Linked DNA regions of Homo sapiens: regions 2 and 3 are each linked to region 1. The links are contacts of gene promoters, found by promoter capture Hi-C in blood cells and fetal thymus (Javierre and others, 2016). All regions are on one chromosome and are shown on one strand. Each heading gives the region's core, a stretch centred on a gene start or on the middle of the fragment in contact. The rest is flanking DNA. Distances are from core to core; before and after follow the strand shown.

Region 1 (2,862 bases), core at 103-2,602:
TGGAAATGTGGTGTTTTCAATTGCATCCTTGAGCTCAGTAACCTCAAAGGAGAATAATCATTTTATTTCTGTGTATTTCTGATTTTCAGTTCAGTCACCAGAATTGCGCAAGGACAGTAACATGTATCTTACTGTAAACTAAGTATATTTTTTAGCATTTCTCCCCAGTGAGGACTACAGCAAGGTGAGAACACGATACATCATCTCTCCGCGACCCCAGTACGCTCCCAGTGCAAGACTAAATAGAGGATGCTGCGGTTTTAGGAGTGAAGGCCTACAGTGTAACAGAGGCAACAGAAGTTCTTTAGCTCTCAAGGCAGCATCCTCTAGGTTGTGCTCGCTTCCTTACACTGTTCTGCGGTCATACGGTCTTGTCACTTTTCTCTGTTTTCCTTTGGCTACCCTTCTCTGACTTTGGCCTCAGTTTTCAATTTCTTTTCCATTGCCACCATCACCAGCAATGTTCGCTATTGCCTCGCAATCCCTCTCTCCGACATTTTGTAATCCCGAGTCTCTCCCAAGTTCATTCTCCGACAGACCTCTCACGCTCCCTGTACTTCTGAAGCCACTTCGGATTCTCCCCTATCTGCCGGCTCCCACCACCCACTCTCTCCCAGCGCACTTCACTTTCCTAAGTCGGGCTGCTGCCGAATCCTGACAGACGGACTTCACCAATCCGCGAGAGATAAATAACCGACGTCGCCAATGAGCATCCGCCGGAAGGCGGGACTTCGCTTAAGTTCCTCGGGTCCCGAAACCAAAGACCTGTTGCCGCCGCCGCCGTGGCCACGGAGTTTCTTAGTTACCGCGGCGCCCTTGGCGGCCTCGGGCCTCTAGAGCCGGGGCCAGGTATGAAGTTTCCTGCCGCCCCCTCCCACCGCTGCCAACGAACAAGACCGAAACCCCCATCCGCCTCGAGCGCAGCGCGCCCCGCCCCACCTACCCCGAGCGAGGGTATCCCGGAGGCCGCCCCGCGCGGTCCCGACCTCCCTCTCCCGGCCCGACTCCCGCAGGCGGCCCCTCCCGGCAGGAGCTGCCCGGTCCGGGCGCCTGAACCCTGGGCAGCGACTCACCAGGAAGTTGGGAGTTTTCCGTTCTCCCGCCCGCGAGAGACCTTGGGCGGGCGGGTGGCTCGGCGCGGCGCCGCCGTCGGAAAGCGCGCTGGGCCGGGGGCTGAGGCTGCGAGGCCCGGAGCCTGTCGGCCACCTCCCGCCGCGCCGCCCCGGCGGACGCTGCAGGCGCGGGGCACCCACCCTGCGCACTGCGAGGCGCGTCCGGAGTGCGAGCCTAGCGGCGGCCCATCCTCCCGCGACTCCCGATCCTCCTCCTGCTGCCGCCGCTGTCAGGAGTGTAAACATCCCGGCATCCCCGAGGAGAGGGGCGGGGCGGGCGCCGGCCCCACCCCGCGTCGTGAGTCCAGGCCGGCTGCCCGATGGAGGCTTCCCGCCTGCGTCCCCGGCGCTCCCTGGAGCTGGGGGAGCCTCGGCGGTTTCCCTACTGGAGCCGAAGTCGCTCTGGAGGAGCCCCTCCTGGCCCCTCTCTTCCGGTTGTCAGGCCTAGCGTGGTGCGGGGCACCGCGTCCGGTCCCCTGAGCCCTCTTCCCCGGCTGCTTTTTAAGAACCCAGGGTCGGCTGCTTTTTAAGAACTTGTTTTTTCTTCATTTATATGTAAGTGCCCCCACTTGCAAGCGGTGAACCGACTTACTGATGTTCCCTTCTGGACCACAGCGTTTGTGATCCCATCTTCTTTTACCAGGTGATTTAAACTACCTCTGTGTTTAATGTGGAGTGCAGGGAAATGAGAAAAAAAAAAAAAGGCGTTTTCCTGAGTCTGGCTAAGCAAACGTTGCATGAAAGTGTCCCAGCATAGAGGACAGGGGCTTCAACAACATTCCAGAAGGTAAACTCCCTGGTGTGGTACGGAGGATCTTTGAAATAAATATGTGCAAAATCACCCAGAACCCTAGTACACGAAACTGCAAAAGGAATGCTTTGACACCAGCAGCTTCACGACTTAAGTTAACAGGGCATGAACTACTCGAGGAGACGGCTAGGAGGCAGTATGGAGTCGGCCATACCTTAATTGTCGTCTCAACTCAGTGATTAATTTTGTGACCTGGCTGCAAGTTATTTAACCTCTCCAAGTCTCAGTAACTCTCTGTAAAAGGAGATTAGTTGTAATACCAACCTCTAGGACCATAGTTAGAATTAAGTGAGATAAAGCAAAGTGCTTAACCACAAAGCTTGGCATATAAGACGTGCTCATTAAATTGTTGCTGTTGTTCATAGGTCTCTCACTAGTTTAACTTCCCTGACAAAAAGATTAGAGCCAAGAATGAGTAGATTATACCTCAAACATTTAAAATGTTAAAGCCATGAAATTAAGATCTGGAAAGTTTATTTTTAAAAAGAAAAATGGCCGGGCGCAGTGGCTCATGGCTGTAAGCCTAGCATTTTGGGAGGCCAAGTGGGGGGGGGGGTGATCACCTGAGGTCAGGAGTTCGAGACCAGCCTGGCCAACATGGCGAAACCCTGTCTCTACTAAAAATACAAAAACTAGCCGAGCGTGGTGGCAGGAGTCTATAATCCCAGCTACTGGGGAGGCTGAGGCAAAAGAATCGCTTGAACCCGAGGCGGGGAGGAGGTTGCAGTGAGCAGAGATCGCGTTACTTCACTCCAGCGTGGGTGAAAGAGCGAAAATCCGTCTCAAAAAAATAAATAAATAAATGAAAACGTTCACGATCTCAAAAGGAGGCCTTGATTCATGTGGCTCAACAAATATTCATAAATGGGCTAGGCAATGTTCTAAGGAATGAGGATACAACAGCTCACCGAGATATACAGTGCCTGCTGTCATAGAGCT
Region 2 (2,862 bases), core at 363-2,862, 2.5 Mb before region 1:
AGAATTGTGGTCGGTACTGGTGGCAGTATAGATTGGTACAACCACTTTGAAAACATTTCTGCTTTATCTTTGAAAGCTGAACAGCCCCCATAGCCTCTGATGCCGCAGTGCTAATCCTAGGTTCAAATTAGAGTCCAGCGCATGCACAGAAGGTGAACAAGAATGCTCCTACTAGCCTTATTAGTAATTACTAGGGGCAGATTCAGGTTTTATGGGGTATGAGCTTATATAATTGGAAAAGAGGAGGCTTTTAAAGAAAAAGATTCAGAATGATGAATACAAATTAGGTTCAAAAGTGACTAATTTTTATAATGGCAAAAGAAATTACAACAATTAGAAATGTCACAAAACCCAGGAAAAGAGTTCTGTTATAGGTATGTGACCTACGAACTTGGGAAGTCTGATACATTTAGTCTGTGTGGTTCCCATCAATAAAGAAAATACTTAAAGTGCATTTATAATCCTATCCGCTACAGTATTGAATACATTCCTGACAGGAGAAAACTTCCTTTTGACTAGGCAGTAAGAAATAAATGTTCTGTTACTACACGTAACAACTTGGATGAACCAAAAAAACAAATGTTGAGTGATAAAAAGCGAATTCCAGGCTATATGTATTTTTATAAAGCTCAAAAAGAAGAAAAATACACCAATACACAGGAATGCATCCAAATATGATAAAACCACTAAAAATGGCAAAGAGGGACAAAACTGAAGATAGTGGTGGTGAGCTAAGAGGCCAGGAGTAGAATCCTGGAGATGCATAGATACATGCTAAATACTGATAACGTGGTGGAGTGATAGTTTCATTAGCATACTTTAAATTTTACATATTTGGTAAATATGCTCTTTTGAATGCATCGACTATTACACTGAAAATATTTTTAAATACTTAAGGCACCTGAATATAAGCTGGCTTCCCTCCTTCCTCTCCCGTGCTGTCTCCTCTCCCCCATCACTTCTCAACTACAAGCTGCTTGGGACACGTGGCTCCAGAGGTTGGCAAAACAGGGAAATGTCAGCCCACAAGGAACAAGAACCGTGACTTGTGTTATTTTCTTGTTGGTGTTGGGGTGGGGGGAGGGGTGCGGTGGTGCAGGAAATATTATCCAGCTTATCATATATGCCACATCAAGCTGACTCCGTTTAAATTTTGAGTGGCTCTACTAGCTAAAGCCAGAAAAGGGTTTTTGGGCCCAACGGGCAGAAGTGCCCCTCCCTTTTACACTCACACTTCCCACTTTCTAAGGGTGCCAGGCCCCCGCGCCGCCCTCCTGCTTCTTTCCGGACGGTCCAACTCTTTTCCACCAGTCCCAGCCCATTCGATTACGTAAATTCTTCCAAGAGGATTCCCAAACGTGCCCCTCCGTCCAGAACTCGCCCAGCCCGGACCAGTTCCGAGATTTACCACCAGCCCAGAGCTGGGCGGGGGCGTGGAAAACGCGAGGAGCCTTCCCGCCCCTCTCCTTCTCCCTCCCTCCCTCCCAAGCCACTGCCGGCTCCCAGCCGAGCTCCGCCCCCGCGGTGGCCCCGCCTCCCCGCCGCCCGGAAAGCGGGCTGCGGCCCCCTCCCAAAACCCGGGGAAGTGGATTCTACTCTACGCTCCGCTCCGCTCCGCTCCGCACCACCAACCCCGGGCCGCAGTCCTGACGAGCGGGTCAGGGCTTGTCGGGCGGAAGCCTGGCCTGGAGCCTGGAAGGGGGAGACGGCCCGAGCGGGAGCGGGAGCGGACGCGGCCTCAGTCCTGCGCGGGTGAGCGTGCCCCGGAAGCTTGGGCCCCTGGCCGCCCTGGTGCCCCTTCTCCGGGACCTGGGGCGCTAGGCCGCGGCGGCAGAACTGGTGCCCCTGCGCGGCCTTCCTCCCATCCTTACAGTTCCCCGTGTCCCAGGCCTCTACCCGGAACCGGAGCCCCGCCCGTCTCCTAGCAGCTCCGTGACGTGAAGCGCCTCGGGGTGCGGTGCCGCCGGGCGTGGGTGGGAGGCAACGCCCGAGGGGAGGGCCCGCCAGTGCACGGGGGTGCGGGGCGCGTTGGCGAGAATTGGAGGCCGCGCCGCCGCCAGCCGTCCGCCGTCCCGCCCAGCAGGAGCACGTTCCCTTTCGCCATTGGAAGACTGAGTTCCAAGCTTTTTCCTGCTCACCTAGAGCCGTCCCTGCCCCGCCCGCCACCCCCTGTACATTTTCGGAGATTTAGGATAGTAATTCTAGACCCTCGGTTGCATTTCTGTTGGAATTTTTCTGGAAGTTGGAATCTGGCAGTTTAAACAAAGAATTTTTTTAAGAAAAATATTTATTAGTATATTTGATAGTCCCCAGATTAGGTTAAAAGCCTTATTCCCAATAACTGTAATTTTGCAAAGACATGTTTTTGGTGTAAAAAGGTATAGATATGGGTTGATGAAAAGAATCAAACTCTGAAAAATATTTGAAGAGATTTATTTTGAGCCAGATTCAAGTGACCATGGCCAGTGACAGTCCTCAGGAGGTCCTGAGAACATGTGCCCAAGGAAATTGGGGTACAGCTTGGTTTTATCTATTTTAGGAAGGCGTGAGACATCAAATACATTTAAGAAATACATTGGTTTAGTTTAGAAAGGCGGGGCAACTCAATCGGTAAATGTAAACGTTATCTGGTTGAGGTTATCTAAAGACCTGGGATCCATAAAAAGGAATGTTCAGGCTAGAGATAAAGGATTGTGGAGACCAAGTTTTATTGTGCAGAGGAAGCTCTTAGATAGACTTTAGAGAGAGCAGGTTGTAAATTGTTTTATATTGGACTTAAAAGGGTGCCTGGCTCTTAGTTGATTATCTCCTGGATCTGGGAAGGAAGGAGGGAAAACAAGGGGAGATGGGAATTCTCACCAA
Region 3 (2,862 bases), core at 127-2,626, 2.5 Mb before region 1:
TCTCCTGCCTCAGCCTCCTGAGTAACGGGGATTACAGGGGCCCGCCACCACGGCTGCCTAATTTTTGTATTTTTAGGAGAGACGGGGTTTCACCATGTTAGCCAGGCTGGTTTTAAACTCCTGACTGCAAGTGATCCGCCTGCCTTGGTCTCCCAAAGTGCTAAGATTACAGGCGTGAGCCACCGCACCTGGCCCTGATAAATATTATATTCTATTTTCTGATAGTTTCCTTATACCTTAATTTTAATTGAGTTTTAGAATGATTTTTAGAGTAAGATTTAGAATGAGTACTTTATCATCTGTTTGGTTGGTCTATATAATTGGAGCTACTTATGGTCTCTATCTCAGTGAATACTTCTTCAATATCTCTGTACTTTTTGCCTGTTTAAAAAACATTGTTGCTTTACAATATCTATTTATCTAGTCTTTCTCATTTATTTGGTTATTTTTCAGAATGTATTTGTAATATTTTTTCAGATTTCAAAATCTTATGGGGGCTGGGCGGCGCAGTGGCTCACGCCTGGCAGCTTACAAGGTCAGGAATTCGAGACCAGCCTGGCCAATATGGTGAAACCCCGTCTCTACTAAAAATACAAAAATTAGCTGGGCGTGGTGGTGCGCGCCTGTAATCCCAGCTACTCCAGAGGCTGAGGCAGGAGAATCGCTTGAACCAGGGAGGCGGAGGTTGCAGGGGCCACTGCACTCCAGCCTGGGCTGCAGAGCGAGACTCCGTCTCAAAAAAGAAAAAAAAAATTAAAAAAAGGGAACTTTTACTGAAACGGAGTTACATTGTACGGCGGCAAGAACCTTCAAGTTCTAGTTATGCCACTGCTAATTGTCTGATCTTTCACAAGTTTAACTCTAAACCTCAGTTCCTCATCTGTAAACGAGGGATAACATTAATATTTATCTCACAAGATTTTCAGGACTGTTTAAAAATTCATATAAGACATTTAGCATATTTCCTACGTGAACGCCTTGCATAGGAAACACTAGAAAAGTTAATTATTATGATTAACTTGGGGGCAAATATCCATTTACAATGTGAAGTCTTCGATGTAATGGCTTCTTTTAGATTAAAGACCGACAAGAGTGTCACTGTCATGCTTTTCGTTTGACACCCACTTCAACGAGGGGCCCGCTGCGCCCGCGACCGCCGCCCCTTCCTCTGGTCGGATTTAAAGGGGGCCAAGCTCCACGCTTTAGCAGAACCCGAGGAGGGGAGGGAGCGTTGCCTGGGAGATGAGGGTGGGGCGAGTCCAGCATTCAGAGACGGCTACCGGAGCCCAACCACCGGCACTTCCGGGGGGCGGGTGGAAGCAAAGGCGCGGCACCCGACGCGACGCCCAGCAGCCAATCAGAAGGCGGGGCGCCCATTCAAATTGCGGCCTTCTGGGGAGCCGGCGCTGGAGGTGGTGAGTGGCGTGGGGACTGTGTCGAGGGGGTCCCCAAGGTGCCGGACCCTGCGGAGGGGCGAAGTTTCGGCACTGGGGAGGGCGTGCGGACGCTTTCCCTACAGGCGACCACTGCTCTGCGGGCGGGTGGTCTTAGCTCCAGTCCCCCATTCAGTTCCTCAGCATTCCAGGTCGGCGGCGAAGGGGTCCCCGAACGAAGGGCGCAAGGCAGCGTCTCTGCTGGGACCGGGAAGCCGGACTTCAGGGCCTCTCGGCCCGTGGGCTTCTCCCCGAGTCTCCCCGAGTCGGTTGGCATTAAGAGGTAATTCTTAGTCATAGCCCCTGGTAATGACTAGCAGAGAAAGAACAGAATCACCGGATGTTTTGGTTTGGATTGTGCTTATTTTCCTTGTATTCCTTCCAGTCCTCTTTAAAATCTGATGGCGAAACTCCTCAAACAGAAACCGTATTGATTTGTGCAAATCGCAAATGGTTTTTAGTTGCAAGAGAATTTCCAGAATCTTCTTTTTGCCTTTAAATTCATTTCATAACAGGAAAATTCTGTATTTTGAGTTGAAACGTTGATGGGAGATGCTTATAAGCTGACGAATTTTTTTTGTAATGACTGTTATTTATGTAAAAATTTAAAAGCCTCATTTAAAAATGAACTTCCATTAATTTGTTCCTCGCTAGCAATAATCTTTGCAATAGTTTGAACCAGTGTCATTTTACAGGTTAGAACCCGGCATGCAAATTTAAAGTCTTGTTTACATCCTTGTAAGGAGTTGGATACAAAGCTGACTAAAAGCCAGGTCTCTTAGCTGTCACTGCTGTTCCCTTTCTTTAAAACGTTAATACCTGATAGATATTGTTGCTGTATATTTACATACACCTCTGTCTAATTTGTTGTCTTACTGCTAAAGGGCAGGTTGTCTGTTTATCTAATCTTGCATGGTTTTTCTCAACACAATTAATTTACAGTACTTATCGTACTTACTGCCTGTGGTACTTGGGAATAATCTGCCTCGTGACACCAATCAATTCAATCTTCTCTATAGGCATTCCTGTATTCAACATACATGGGCCGGACGCGGTGGCTCACGCCTGTAATCCCAGCACTTTGGGAGGCCGAGGCGGGCGGATCACAAGGTCAAGATATCGAGACCATCCTGGCCAACATGGTGAAACCCCGTCTCTACTAAAAATACAAAAATTAGCTGGGCATGGTGGTGGGCGCCTGTAGTCCCAGCTACTTGGGAGGCTAAGGCAGGAGATTTGCTTGAATACAGGAGGAGGAGGTTGCAGCAAGCCAAGGTCGTGCCACTGCACTCCAGCCTGGTGACAGAGCAAGACTCCATCTCAAAAAAAATATTTTTATAAAAATAAAATAAAATAAACCTTCTTATGGAACATTGGCAAAAAAAAAAAATACGTGTAGCAGGTATTTATAAAAATACTTTGCTCCACA

Evidence for each region. The method cuts DNA at HindIII sites, captures the fragments that hold promoters and counts their contacts. A CHiCAGO score of 5 or more calls a contact.
Region 2: a contact is called between the fragment with the promoter of DDX59 here and the fragment with the promoter of NEK7 in region 1, in 3 of 17 cell types (total B cells, fetal thymus and erythroblasts). The highest score is 8.4, in total B cells.
Region 3: the fragment with the promoter of KIF14 here is called in contact with the fragment with the promoter of NEK7 in region 1 in 1 of 17 cell types (fetal thymus); the score reaches 6.5 in fetal thymus.

The regions. Positions count from the first base shown.
Region 1 is chr1:198,155,488-198,158,349 of GRCh38, reverse strand. It overlaps NEK7 (NIMA related kinase 7), which reads right to left and starts at 1,352. Exons shown (of 10, transcript NM_133494.3): 1 at 1,074-1,352. RefSeq lists enhancers at 627-676, 2,107-2,166 and a silencer at 917-1,516. The HindIII fragment of the contact is 2,805 bases long and covers 1-2,244 here.
Region 2 is chr1:200,668,657-200,671,518 of GRCh38, reverse strand. It overlaps DDX59 (DEAD-box helicase 59), which reads left to right and starts at 1,612. Exons shown (of 8, transcript NM_001031725.6): 1 at 1,612-1,752. DDX59-AS1 (DDX59 antisense RNA 1) reads right to left here and starts at 2,012. Exons shown (of 3, transcript NR_110787.1): 1 at 1,897-2,012. RefSeq lists a silencer at 1,459-2,198. The HindIII fragment of the contact is 3,439 bases long and covers 1-1,772 here.
Region 3 is chr1:200,619,265-200,622,126 of GRCh38, reverse strand. It overlaps KIF14 (kinesin family member 14), which reads left to right and starts at 1,376. Exons shown (of 30, transcript NM_014875.3): 1 at 1,376-1,716. RefSeq lists a silencer at 1,289-1,438 and an enhancer at 1,607-2,108. The HindIII fragment of the contact is 3,652 bases long and covers 1-2,862 here.